2 separate regions of the Homo sapiens genome follow, and region 2 is linked to region 1. The links are contacts of gene promoters, found by promoter capture Hi-C in human tissues and cell types (Jung and others, 2019). All regions are on one chromosome and are shown on one strand. Each heading gives the region's core, a stretch centred on a gene start or on the middle of the fragment in contact. The rest is flanking DNA. Distances are from core to core; before and after follow the strand shown.

Region 1 (6,464 bases), core at 3,337-5,836:
ACACTGCCCAGCCCCCAGACTCACTGACCCCCCTCCATGTTCCTCCATTTTCTCTTCCTGCAGCTGCTTGGAAGCTCTTTCCCAGACCTCCCCCTCTCGCTCTCTCCCCACCTTCCCATCTCTGATAAATGTCACCTGTGCAGTGAGGCCCTTCCTGGGGCTCCTTTCGAAAATGGCAACCCTGCCTCACCTGTGCTCTCTAAACCCTGACCCTGCTTGACCTTTCTAGCATCTTCACCACGCAGCCTCCTCCATTTTCTACTCCTACAGCATATGTATTGTTCATTTCGCTCTGTGGAATGCTTGCTCCTAAGAAACAGGATTGATTTTTGTCTTTCTTTCTAGCTGTATCCCCAGTGGTTCTCAACAGCAGACTACTTTGCCTCCCAGGGGATTTTTGGCAATCTCTGGAGACATTTTTGGTTGTCAGAATGGGTGGGGGTGGCCAGCCATGGTGGCTCACGCCTGTAATCCCAGCACTTTGGGAAGCCGAGGCGGGTGGATCACAAGTTCAGGAGATTGAGAACATCTTGGCCAACATGGGAAAACCCCATCTCTACTAAAAATATAAAAATTAGCTGGGCGTGGTGACACATGCCTGTGATCCCAGCTACTCAGGAGGCTGAGGCAGGAGGTTCGCTTGAACCCGGGAGGCGGAGGTTGCAGTGAGCCAGGATTGCACCACTGCACTCCAGCCTGGGTGACAGAGTGAGACTCTGTCTCAAAAAAAAAAAAAAAAAAAGAATGGGTGAGGGACTGGGGTGCTACTGGCATCTCATGGATAGAGACCAGCACTGTTACAGAGCATCCTACACTGCCCAGGACAGCCTCCCCTGCACCAAACAGAAGAACAAGGCAGCCCCAAATGCCAATAATACTCCAGTCGTATCCCCATTACTTAGAACAGCAGCCAGCACATGCATAGCAGGTGCTCAATAAATGCTCATTATGGAAGACTGAGGAGCTGCTATCATCATTGTTGTCATCGTTATTATTATTTAAGAATAGATGTGGTCGAGAATCATCCTTAAGGATGGTCCCTTGGGTGCTCATGGCCAATAGGTCATACTGTTGACTTAAAACATCTTTCTTTTGGTCCAGGCTCTGCCCCCTGGAGCATCCAGAAAAGGCAGTAAACTGCTCATTGCTGGGGCTTCACCAGCCAGGACCAGTCCACATCATCAAGCCCCCTGGGCGCCCAGGTGATGCCAGCCTTCTCCTCCCCACAAGGAGCCTGGCCATGGGCTGCCGTGAGCAGGGACTCTCAATTCTCACCCCTCTGTCCCCCCTTCTGCTTGCTCCCACACTGGAAAACTCAGGACCTTGTGCACAACTGAGCAAGGAATCACCTCCACAGGCCTTTTCAGGGTGATCCCAGCCGAACTCTGCTCCCCCCAGGCCACTCTCAGCCCAGGAAACTCATGGGTCTGAGTGAATTATGCCATTTTTGCTTCTTTCAAGAAAGGGCGAGGGGAGTGACAGGGGAATTTTCAGGGAGGCACAGCCAGGCAGGGTATACTCTGTCATTTTGCTGACCTAACAAATTATCATTGACAATTTTAAACAGCCAGCGTGACCAGGCCAGACTCTTCTAATGCAGAGGGCACCACCCATAGAACACACCAAACCCCACGTGGTGTGTTCTGAGCAGCGGGTAGAGCAGCATGAAAAGAAACGATGCTTTTGCATCAGGGACTATTTCACCTCTCGAACAGGCTGCCGGAGCCCAACCCAGACACAGGCCTGGCACCCACCCTGTATTCACACCGAGAATTCCCACTTGATATTCACAACTTTCTCTGCCTGAGGCCTGCCCCTTCCCCCTCGCCCCAAGCCTCTCCTTCTCCCTGGGGCCTTCTTGAGCTTAGCAGCTGGGCCTGTCTCTGCAGAACTATGAGGCTGGCAAAGTACAATGTTCTCTCTCCTACACTCCCCAAGCTTCTCTTTCCCTCCTCTCTGTTCTGCCTTCTCTTTCTCTCCTCTCCAAGGCCCTGAAAGCTTCTCAACAAGTCATTGATGTTAAGGATTAGTAACTGACATGAGACTATGAACCACAGTCATAAGTCTCTAATGGTGGGATATTAAGCATCAGATGGCTAGGTTTGGGGGAACAGGATGATATTTGGTGGGCAGGGGTTGTCCTGGTGCCCCTGAAGTCTTAAGTAGCTAGTCCCAATTCTGCCAGGGAGTAGGACTGGCCCAAAACTCAGAAGAAGATGACAGAGCAGGCATGTGCCAAGTGTCAGTGAGCCAGAAGGCTGTGTGGGGTGGGCCCAGGACACCAATGGCTCGGGGCAGAAGCTGGGGACAGAAGTGCCAGCTCCCTGCAGAGGCAGAGTTTGCTGGAGACTGGGTTACATCCTCCATCCTCACTTTTTGGGAATCCAAGCTCAATCTGTGAGCTACCCTGCTACTAAAATTCACACCTCTTCCCCCACCTCTAAGGATGGCATGAGGGATCCTAGCTACACAGCCACTTCCCTCAAGTCCAATGTCAGAGAGTCAAGCTGGGGGCTAGAGAAAGCAGAGGCCACAACACCAGCCCAGAACCACCTCCAGTAAAATGGACACTGTCATTCATTCATGACCTTACTTGATTCTCAAAACCCCCTGCCAGACCCATCTTACAGGTGAGGAGGCTGAGCCTCCAAGCATTCTGTAAGTTGGCCAGTGTCACACAGTCAGGAACCTAGCAGGGTTTGGAGCCGACGTTTTCCACAACAACCTAAGGCCAGTCTCTTCCAAACAAGCGTGAACAATTCAGCCAATCTCCCCCTGCACCAAGTCACAGAGCCCCAGCTGACAAGCCTGAGAATGGCTGAGCTCCCTCAAGTGTGCTGTTGGCTTGTGGGGCCTGGGGTGCAGCCAGCCAGGATGCTGGGGTTCTCACATCACCAACAGCCCCAGCCACAGCAGGGCCACCTCTATCTTCCGTTGAACTGGACTACCCAGCCCCTCAGCACATCCACTGCCTTCCACATGACAAGAGAGAGGAGGTTTGGGGGTGGGGAGGTCTCAGGCACAAGCACAGATTTCACCCTGTTAGGCACCCTGGGGACCTGGCCCTGAGATGAGGTGTCCCCCAGCTACCTCCAGGGGCTGCGTTAGCAGAGAAGTGAGGCAGATCTAGGGCTTCTCAGGCAGGCAGGAGACTTCGGCATGAGGGGCTGGCTACAGGGTCTGCAAAGAGGTGCCACCAACCTGCCACTGAGATGCCTGTGGTCCTGAGATACTCTGAATCCAGGACATCAGAGCCAATCAAGGTCCCACACCCACACCCAGGCAATCCTGGCTGTTAATTGATCAAGACTTCAGGTTTGTGGAAATGAGGGGAATGGGTGTGAGGTGGCTGGGAGGGGAAGCCCCATCTTGTGTTCCCCAGGATGGATGTGGAGCAGAAGCCAGCCTCGGTGACAGCTTGTATGTGACATCTGTCAAACTGAGACAGCTCCCACTTGGGGATCCTGTCCTGGGTCCTGCTCTAACCCAGTCACTGATAATCCAGTGCAAAGTGGGTGAATCCCTTCCTTTCTGGGAACAAGGGCTTCCTTAACCACCGGCGTGCCTGGCAGGTACCGGAGGCAGCCCCGGGGCAGCCCTGGAGAAGCTAGTCAGAATATGAGCTTCTTTCCTCCCCAGCCAGGCTCCCGGAATTATTTCTCAAATCATTTTCAGTCCTAGGAAGTGATAATTTGATTTCACTTTAACATTTTTAACGAGCTGCATCTTCATCAACTGCCAAATTAGGATGAGAGCAAAGATCGGGGAATCACAATGAGAGGTTTTGGAGTGATTGGGGAAATCCAAATTTGGGGTGTGCCTGGGTGGTTGACACCTCACGCCCAGCACCTGCGGTGGGGTCCCCATAGCACCACCCTGATCACCCCCGCGAGTCCATCTCTGCTCAGTGGCTCCTGGCAGGGACACCTCCTCCTATCAACCCTTCTCACAGGCGGGAGAAGGAAGCCCCGGGTCCCACGAGCTGGAGAAATGAGGCCACCCTGCAGGCTGTGATAAGCGGGGAGTTGGACCCGCATAGGCCGACAGCCCAGCTCAACAGGTGGTGGTGGGCTTATCCCTTCCTGCATTATCCGGATAATAATCTGCCAGCCCCATTCAAGTCCGTCGTGGAAAAGTCTGCCCTCAGCTTTGGCATGGGTAAATTGCCTAGAAGCGACTGCAAAGAGGGGGCGTCATCATCTCCCCCGATACATCCTTGGGACAGACAGATGGACAGACAGACACACGCACACGCGCATACACACGCCCGCGCTCCCCACCACACTGCCCCTTCCAGGGTGCGCGATCGCTAGGGCTCTCCAGCCCCTGCCCCTGGCTGGGCTGTCATGGGGGCGCAGCCCGGCGCCGCGGCCCAGCACCGGTGGGAGACCGTCCCCCAGGGACCCCCCCAGGATGGAAGAGGTGGTCTCTCCCGGTCTTCCCGGCTCTTACCTCGCTGGAGCGGCCGCGACCCCCGACCCTGGTCCAATGTCCCTCGCCGGCTGGGCGCGCGGGGCGGGAGGTACCGCGCTAGGCTGCCCGGGACGCCCGCCCCGTCCAGTCAGCCGGAACCGCTCGGCGCCAATGACCGTGGCCGCCGCCGCCGCAGCTCGCGCCCCGGACCCCGAGAGGGAGGGGCGGGCAGGGGGCGGGGCCGAGGGCGGGGCCTCCCCACCCCGGCGCTGCCAGCTGCAGGCGGGGTTTGGGACCGGTCAGATGCGGTCTCCCAGCCCGGGAGGTGAGCACCTCTGGGGTGAGCACCCTTGTGGGGGTGGCAGGTGAAGAGTTGGGGGCCGGCGTGGGAGAGGAGAGGCTTTCAGAGTCCGCATAGGGCTGGGAGACCCTGCCTGGAGTCAGACTCACCTTCAAATTCCAGCAGCTGGGGCTGCAGCCTCTGCCGTTGCTGCTGCTTTTAAATAAGGATGATGATGATGATGATGATGATGATGATGGTGATAGAACAACAATGCCAGCTAGTATTTATTGAGCACTTACTAGTGTAAGCGTTCAATGAGCTTCACATGTATTAAGTCATTTAATTCTCACACGAATCCCATTTTACAGATGAGAAGACTGAGGCACAGGGCGCTTAAGTGAGGAGTCTGAGGACACACAGCTGGAAAATGGCAGAGCCAGGACTGCAGCTCAGGCCTGTCTAAGTGCAGAATCTGAGCCTTTAAAGCCCCACTCTGCTTTTGTACTGTGTGGCCTTAAGCAAAGTGTTTGTCCCTCTTAACAGTAAAATGGTAATATATGTCCAATAAATGGTGGCAACTAACAATAAAACATTTCTTCCTTTCTTAGGTTCTATGTCTCCTTTAGTCTCTGGGTCCTGGACACCCAATAGGTGCTCAATAGATGTTTGTTAATCTATGACTAATTTGAAAGTGGCAGCTGGAGCCAGTGTGGTCAGCCAGGTTGGAAGGGGAACCCAAGGGCTAACTCTTCCTGGCCTGCATAGCCACATATCTTTTATTGCTTTGAAATGGCAGCCTGACCGATATCTTTGTCCGGCACACTTGTGCAGATGCTCACAGACCAGCAGCTTCCCCTCAAAGGCCTGTAAAATCCCTGCAGACCAAGAGGGGGTCAAAGATGTGGCATGTGGAAATATTTGGGGGCAAAGTTGGTTGCTAAATAATGAGACATCAGCAGTGAACATATTAGTTTAAAACTGTAGGGCAGAAACTTTTATAGAAGCATCTATGTTGCTGAGGTCTCCTGACATGGGAGGACTTTGTCACATGTGAATGGGGCCAGGTGGAGTTGGGACAACTGAAGGTTTTTGGAAAGGATACACCACGTGTCTATTCACAGCATTTTAGGCCTATGCAGTTTTCCGCTTTTTCTCCCTTTTCCCACCTACCCCAAGAGTGTTCTTCTCTATCCCCCAGAATACCCTGATGGAAATCCAAGAATGGATTTCTTCTTCTTCGTCTCTGGGCCCAGGAGCCTCTTGCACAGCTCTCACCAGTATGGCAATGATGAATTTACTGTCAATCTCCCTAACTATGCTGGGAGCCCCTTAAAAGGAGAAAGTCTGACGCATAGTAGGCACATTGTATTTGCTGAATGAATGACTGGAAGTTGGACACATCTCCCCAAGACTAAAGCTGTCAAGGAGAAAACCACCAAAGAAAACCTCAGAGGTGGCTGGATCAATGAAATGAAAAGATGAAAACGGGCAAAGCACCCAGGAGATGTGCCTTTTGCAAAGTCTGCAGGTCATTTTCCCAGCAAAGGCCAGAGAGGCTGGCCTGGGATCCATGCCCTGTGGGTCACCTCTGCGGGCCGTCGCCATGTCCTCCAGCCATTGAAGAGTAAGTGTATGGAGTGGGGGTGAGCAGACTGCCTGGTGTTGGGTGTGAGGAAAGGGGTGGGTGGAAGAGGGAATGTCCTCCCTTGTGGGTTAATTGAACAATCCCAGAATGTCCACTTGCCCCCTAGATAGGCCCCCTTTTTGA
Region 2 (6,548 bases), core at 214-2,713, 150 kb before region 1:
GCCAGAGGCAGGCTCCTAAGCAGGTATGATGGAGCGAAGGGCCCTTTTGCTTCTGTTCTCCTACCTCCCTGTCCCCAGCTTCTGGCCTCCTCTCATAAGAGGCTTTCTGTTTCGATAGTACCAGATTTCTTAGGCATCCGGGAACAATCCCTCTGTCCCATGCATCCCAGGAGCTGGCTCAGGGCCGGGGGCCCCTGGTAGGCACTGGGTAACTATGGAATGCCCCGGAGCAGGCATGATGTTTCTGGAACTTTGCCTGTGTTCTGTCTGGAACCTTCTTCTTCTTCTTCTTCTTCTTTTTTTTTTCCTTTTTTAAACAAACTTGTGTTCATCTTCCTAAACTGGCTCACATGACTTACCATCTAGAAACTTCCCTGACCACATCCCTTGCCTCCAAGGACCTTCCTCTTCCCACTCTGTGCTACTGCCACTCCTTGGACGTGCACTTAACGCATTTCCACACAGAATCGTAACAGATGGCCGTCCCTCTGTCTCCCTTCTCCCACTGGACGCTGATTTCTTTGAGGAACAGGACAGGATTCTACTTTTCATCTGGGTGCTCCATAAAATGTCTGCTGGATGAATAAAGAATGAATAGGAGACTGCATGTGTGCATTCAGGAAGGAAGACGTGTGCCTCTGTATATTCCCCTGCCTGGGGAACTCTTACACATTCTGCAAGACAAGAGTAATGTTGCCTCCTCTGGGAAGCCCCCCGGGACTTTCCCAGGCTGATAGAGGCCAAGCCTCCCTGGAATTGAGTGCACTAAGACAAATGACACTCTAACATCACAAGCCTCACCCTGACACTCCTTTCTTTTCTTGCTTTTTGTTTGTCTCTCTTGGACAATAGACTCATTACTGAATTGCTGTCTGTTTTATTCTCTGCTATGAAGAAAACTTTCCCTATCACTTCGAATGCTGCTTGAGCAGTAGCAGACACTCAATATTAATATTTGCTGAATGAATGAATGAATGAATCTGGGAGTGCCCAGGACTCAGCCTGGGATTTAGTTTTCAAATCCTCAATGAGCATTTTCTGGATTTGAATAGAGACTAAGAAAATGCAGGTAGGGAGTTGGAAACAGATAAGGCAGGATGAGGGCGGGTGGTGGGAGCCCCCCAGAGCAGGGTACCAGGCAGTATCTCCCGATCACAGCTGCCCAGGCTGGGAGAGAGGACGGTCTCAGAGAAGCAAGGCCATTCTTTGCCCTTGGGTCAGACCCTCCTCACCCCAACCATGTCAGTCCCCTGCCACCCTTTGGTCTGGTCTCGTTGAGCTGGTGTGCTCAGCTCAGTGGGGCATTTCCCCAAGGATGAGGTCGAGGTGAGCAGAATGACACTGGGCTTGTTGTCAGCACAGACTCCCAGCCTGGTAACCCTGGGGACCCTGAGGCAGGCTCAGGCTCGAGGCTAAACTCAGGCTCGGGTTCAAGTCAAACTCTGCCCCTGCTGCTTCGCCTTCTGGGTGAAGAATCCAGGGTGACAGAACCCACCTTCCTGTGGGGTTATGAGGATCCCATGAGAGACAGCACAAGCAGATGGCGAGGCAGGAACAAGTGGGAGGTCATGTCATTCTGAACAGCTCCGAGTCTCAGAATCTGCAGATACAGGAGTATCTTTCTCCTCCAGAAGGTCAAACCCTGTTCCCAAGAGGCTGGGTGCAAAAATAAGTGCTGAATGAATGAATGAACGAGTCCCCAGAACATAGCACAGGGCTAGGCACACACATTCTCGACTAGTATTTGCTGGATCACCTAGGACTGAAGAAAATACAGGCCAGCAGTTGGGGATGAATGGGGGCGGGTGCAGGCTGGTGGCAGGCCATCTGTGAGTCTTTGTCATCCCAGACCTATATTTGTTTTTTGTTTTTGTTTTGAGACAGGGTCTTGCTTATTGCCCAGAGCTGGAGTGCAGTGGTGGCTCACTGCAGCCTCAAACTCCAGGGCTCAGGCAATCCTCCCACCTCAGCCTCCTGTGTAGCTAGGGCTAAAGGTGTGCACCACCATGTCCAGCTAATTAATTTTTTGTTGTTGTTAGAAACGGGGTCTCATTATGTTGCCAAACTGGTCTTGAACTCCTGGCCTCTAGTGATCCTCCTGCCTTGGCTTCCCAAAGTGCTAGGATTACAGGTTCAAGCCATTGCAGCTGGCTACTATTTTTAATTTTTACTGAAGATAATCTACAGAGAGTAATCCTAAGGGTGCAGTTAGATGAACATGTGTCTACACCCGTATAACCAGCACCCTGATCAAAATATAGAACATTGTTCACACACCTTGCACCCTCCCAGACAACAGCCCACAAAGGGAGCCACTGTGCTGAGCTCCGCTGCCTTGCATTCGTTTTGCCTGCTTTTGAACAGGGTATGAATGGAAACACACAGTATGATCAGCCTGTTTTTCTATCTGCTTTGTGCGAGCTGGGAGTCACCACGTGAATGCCAACAACCAGAACCTGGGTGTGAAAGTGTGCCAGTGGGTGGCAGCCCCTGCAAAACATGGGTTCCAGGGCTTTGAAGTGCATGGTTAATGTCTTCTTAAAGGATCTGTCTCGAGCAGAATGATTTTCACCTTCTTTGCGGAGAGTGCCCCATCTGAAGAGCCGCCCTCAGTCTGACAGCAGAATCCTTTCTCTTTAGACTGCATGAGTCAGACCTGGGGCCTGGCATCGTGCGTTGTTCTGGTCACGACGCTGTGCCCACCTCCTCCAAGAAGCCTGCTGTGCCAGCCCAGCCCACAGCCAGCATCTGGCAACCACGGGGACACACCTGAGGGGCGGGTCCTGCTCTCTTCCCATCTAAACTCCTCCTCCAGCCTGGGTAGCCTTCACTGTGGCCCCAGATTCCTGGGGTCACCATGGGTTATTTTGGATATTCGCAGCACACTGAGCCACCCCACAACCTCGCCTTTTCCCCAGCGTGCAGCAGGCATGTGACTGTTTTTAGCATGGGGCTGAGAAAGATCTTGCCAGGGGCTTTGGGGCTGGAGACCTGGGTGCAGGTGCTGGGGGGTGTCACAGGCTGGTGAGTCTCCCACAAGGGGAGTGCCATCCATGCTGCATTGTGAGGAGGAAGTGAACTCTGCAAAGTGCCTGCAGAGATTTTCATGTCATAGCTACCACTGTTATCAACTGGGAAGAGGTATAGCCGAATGAAGAGAATGGAATCTGAAGCCAGACAGCCTGGGTTTCAATTCTGACTTCACCACTTGTTGGCTCCGGGGCCTTGGGCAAGCTGCTTAACTTCCCCGTGCCTCAGTTTCTGCATCTACACCATGGAAGTAGTGCTAGCACCTGCCTCACAGGCTGGCGGAGGATTAAGCAAGTTAATCTATATAAAGTGCACAGGGCAATCCCTGGCACCTAATAGGAACCACAGTAGAGTTTGCTCTCATAGCCAAGCATGGTGGCTTGTGCCTGTAAATCCAGCTACTTGGGAGGCTGAAGCAGGAGGATCGCTTGAGCCCAGGAGTTTGAAGCCAGCCTGGGCAACAGAGCAAGACCTCATCTCTATAAACAAATTAAAATTAGATGGGCATGGTGGTGCACGTCTGCAGTCCCAGATACTCAAGAGGCTGAGGTGGGAGGATTGCTTGAGCCCTGGAATTCAAAGCCACAGTGAGCTATTGAGAGGTGAAGCCAGCTGGACTTCCTGGGTTGAGTGGGGACTTGGAGAACTTTTCTGTCTTACAAGAGGATTGTAAAATGCACCAATCAGCACTCTGTAGCTACGATTGTAAAACACGCCAATCAACGCCCTGTAGCTAGCTAGAGGTTTGTAAAATGCACCAATCAGCGCTCTGTGGCTAGCTACAGGTTTGTAAAATGCGCCAATTGGTACTCTGTAAAAACACACCAATCAGCACTCTGTGGCTAGCTAGAGGTTTGTAAAATGGACCAGTCAGCACTCTGTAAAATAGATCAATCAGCACTCTGTAAAACGAACCAATCAACACTGTAAAATGGACCAATCAGCATGCTGTAAAACGGACCAATCAGCAGGACATGGGCGGGGACAAATAAAGGAATAAAAGCTGGCCACCCTAGCCAGCAGCGGCAATCCGCTTGGGTCTCCTCCCACTCGTGGAAGCTTGTTCTTTCACTCTTCACAGTAAATCTAGCTGCTGCTCACTCTTTGGGTCCGTGCCACCTTTAAGAGCTGTAACACTCACCGCAAACGTCCATGGCTTCATTCTTGAGGTCAGCGAGCCCATAAACCTATCAGAATGAATCAACTCTGGACACACTATGATCCCACCACTGCACTCTAGCCTGTGTGACAGAGTGAGACCGTATCTCTAAAAATTTTTTTTTATAAGAGTTAGCTCTCTTTCTGCAATAATATACCTGAAATCTGATTAAATCATAGTTAAGTAATTAACTAGTGTGAAATTATAGCTGTTACAAAGATAAGTTGAGATAACATATGGAAAGTTCTTGAGATAATACCTAATGTGCTTGGTGCATAGCAAGGGCTCAGCAGGCATTTGCTCTTATTTTTTAAACTATTCATAATTCTGGACTCTAAACAGAGGAGCCAGCAGGAGGGTGTTGAATGGATAAGCAGCTAGGGCGGAGGGGACCTTGCCGGGCTCGCCTGAGCACCGTCCTACTCACGGGCGGCTCAAGAGGCCACTGGTGACAAACAGAGTGGGTCTCCTGTGGTTCTCTCGGCCCCAGCACCCCCAACCCTGACCCAGTGCTTTGCACAAAGGCTTGTATGTTTCAAGCCACAGTCTAGAGAAAGCAACTAGGTTTCAAAACAAAAAACCAGGTAAATTTCCTTCCCTTTCCTCCAGAGATGGGTAGACCAAAGAAGAACCCAAAAAAACTGCTTGCAAGAATATGAAGGGCTATTAAGGGTCGAAGATGATTGCTTTGTTTTCAGCTATAGGAAAGACTGAGCAAGAAGAAAGGAACAGACATTACTACTGAAGGTAGCAAATTTGATTAGAACTGAGGGATAATTTTGTAGTCCTAGTACTGGGAATCTCAGCTGGAGGATGCTGGACTTGATCAGCATCTCCTTCCATATTCCCTCGCGCTTCTGCCTTAACTGAAACTCTTGCTAAGAACAGAAGGTAACATTCTGAGCACCTGGCAACAAAGACACAAGGGGAAGCTTGTGTCTCTGCATTGATGGACATTTGAAGGGTCAACTGACTCACTGCCACAAAGAGTGAGGGATTGTTTCAGGGTCGCACGAGTCACATTGGAAACTGCCTTTCCTCCAGTATTCACCATGCAAAGATTTTTTTCTTTTTATTTACTTTTTCTTTTTTTTGTTCTTTTAGAGGAACCTCTGGAAGAAATGCAAAGATGTTTCTAACAAGGCCGGGTGCGGTGGCTCACGCCTGTAATCCCAGGACTTTGGGAGGCTGAGGCAGGCGGATTGCCTGAGGTCAGGAGTTTGAGACCAGCCTGGCCAACATGGTGAAACCCTGTCTCTACTGAAAATACAAACATTAGCCAGGTGTGGTGGTGCACGCCTGTAATTCCAGCTACTCAGGAGGCTGAGGCAGGAGAATTGCTTGAACCCAGTGAAGGTTGCAGGGAGATGAGATTGTGCCACTGCACTCCAACCTGGGCAATAGAGTGAAACTCAGTCTCAAAAAAAAAAAAAAAAAAAAGAATTTACACAAAGGGAATTGTCAATGGAAAATTTTTGAGGTAAAAGAATCTTTTATTTTAAAGAGTTTGAAGATTTTTGGTGCAATGAAGCCTGCTTAAGCTTGCCACAGGACAGTTTCCTAGGGAAATAATTTAAAAAAGCAAGCGTCTTCTGCTCAAACCTCATCGGAGTCACATATTAAGAAATCTTGAGCCATCTGACTCAGGCAGAAAAATTCTCCCTGAGGGGCCTCTCACGACACAGCTTTCCGATTAAGTACTTAGGTTTACACATGTGATAAAGGTTTGTAAAAGCATAGATCTGGGTTTTATTTCCTTCTCACTTACTTTCATGGTCAGTTTTAGCACTTTTATTGTAGGAGATGGATTTCTAGGGATGGAAGCCCAATGTGGAAATTGTGCTGACAGGAAATAAAGATTCAACTGTGGTTGGCTTGCAAAGGCTTTGATCCAGGAATCAATTTGGTTATAAGTCAGAAGTGGCCTGTAATAAAATGCTGGCAAGAAGTCGCTGGGCATAGTGCCTGGGAGCGTGTTCCTGGATGCATTTAAGAATAAAAAGAACAGGCTGGGTGCAGTGGCTCATGCCTGTAATCCCAGCACTTTGGGAGGCCGAGGTGGGCAGATCACGAGGTCAGGAGTTCAAGACCAGCCTGGCTAACATGGTGAAACCCCATCTCTACTAAAAATACAAAAATTAGCTGGGCATGGTGGCACATGCCTGTAATCCCAGCTACTTGGGAGGCTGAGGCAGGAGAATTACTTGAACCAGGACCCAGGAGGTAGAGGTTGCAGTGAGCAGAGATTGCGCCACTGCACTCCAGCCTGGGCTACAGAGTGAGACTCCATCTCAAAAAAAAAAAAAAAAAAAAAAGCATGAAAAGAACAAACACCGGCCGTGTCAAATCGGCATACACA

Evidence for each region. The method cuts DNA at HindIII sites, captures the fragments that hold promoters and counts their contacts. A contact is called where the count stands out against the background at its distance.
Region 2: a contact is called between a fragment that was not itself captured here and the fragment with the promoter of CACNG5 in region 1, in 1 of the 25 tissues and cell types used here (neural progenitor cells).

Annotation. Positions count from the first base shown.
Region 1 is chr17:66,833,239-66,839,702 of GRCh38, reverse strand. CACNG5 (calcium voltage-gated channel auxiliary subunit gamma 5) reads right to left here and starts at 4,586. Exons shown (of 6, transcript NM_145811.3): 1 at 4,453-4,586. The HindIII fragment of the contact is 10,169 bases long and covers 1-6,464 here.
Region 2 is chr17:66,979,702-66,986,249 of GRCh38, reverse strand. All of the region lies in intron 1 of CACNG4 (calcium voltage-gated channel auxiliary subunit gamma 4), which reads right to left. Among named protein-coding and RNA genes, the nearest start is that of CACNG4, 18 kb to the right of the region's middle. RefSeq lists enhancers at 603-862, 2,782-3,283. The HindIII fragment of the contact is 7,927 bases long and covers 1-5,426 here.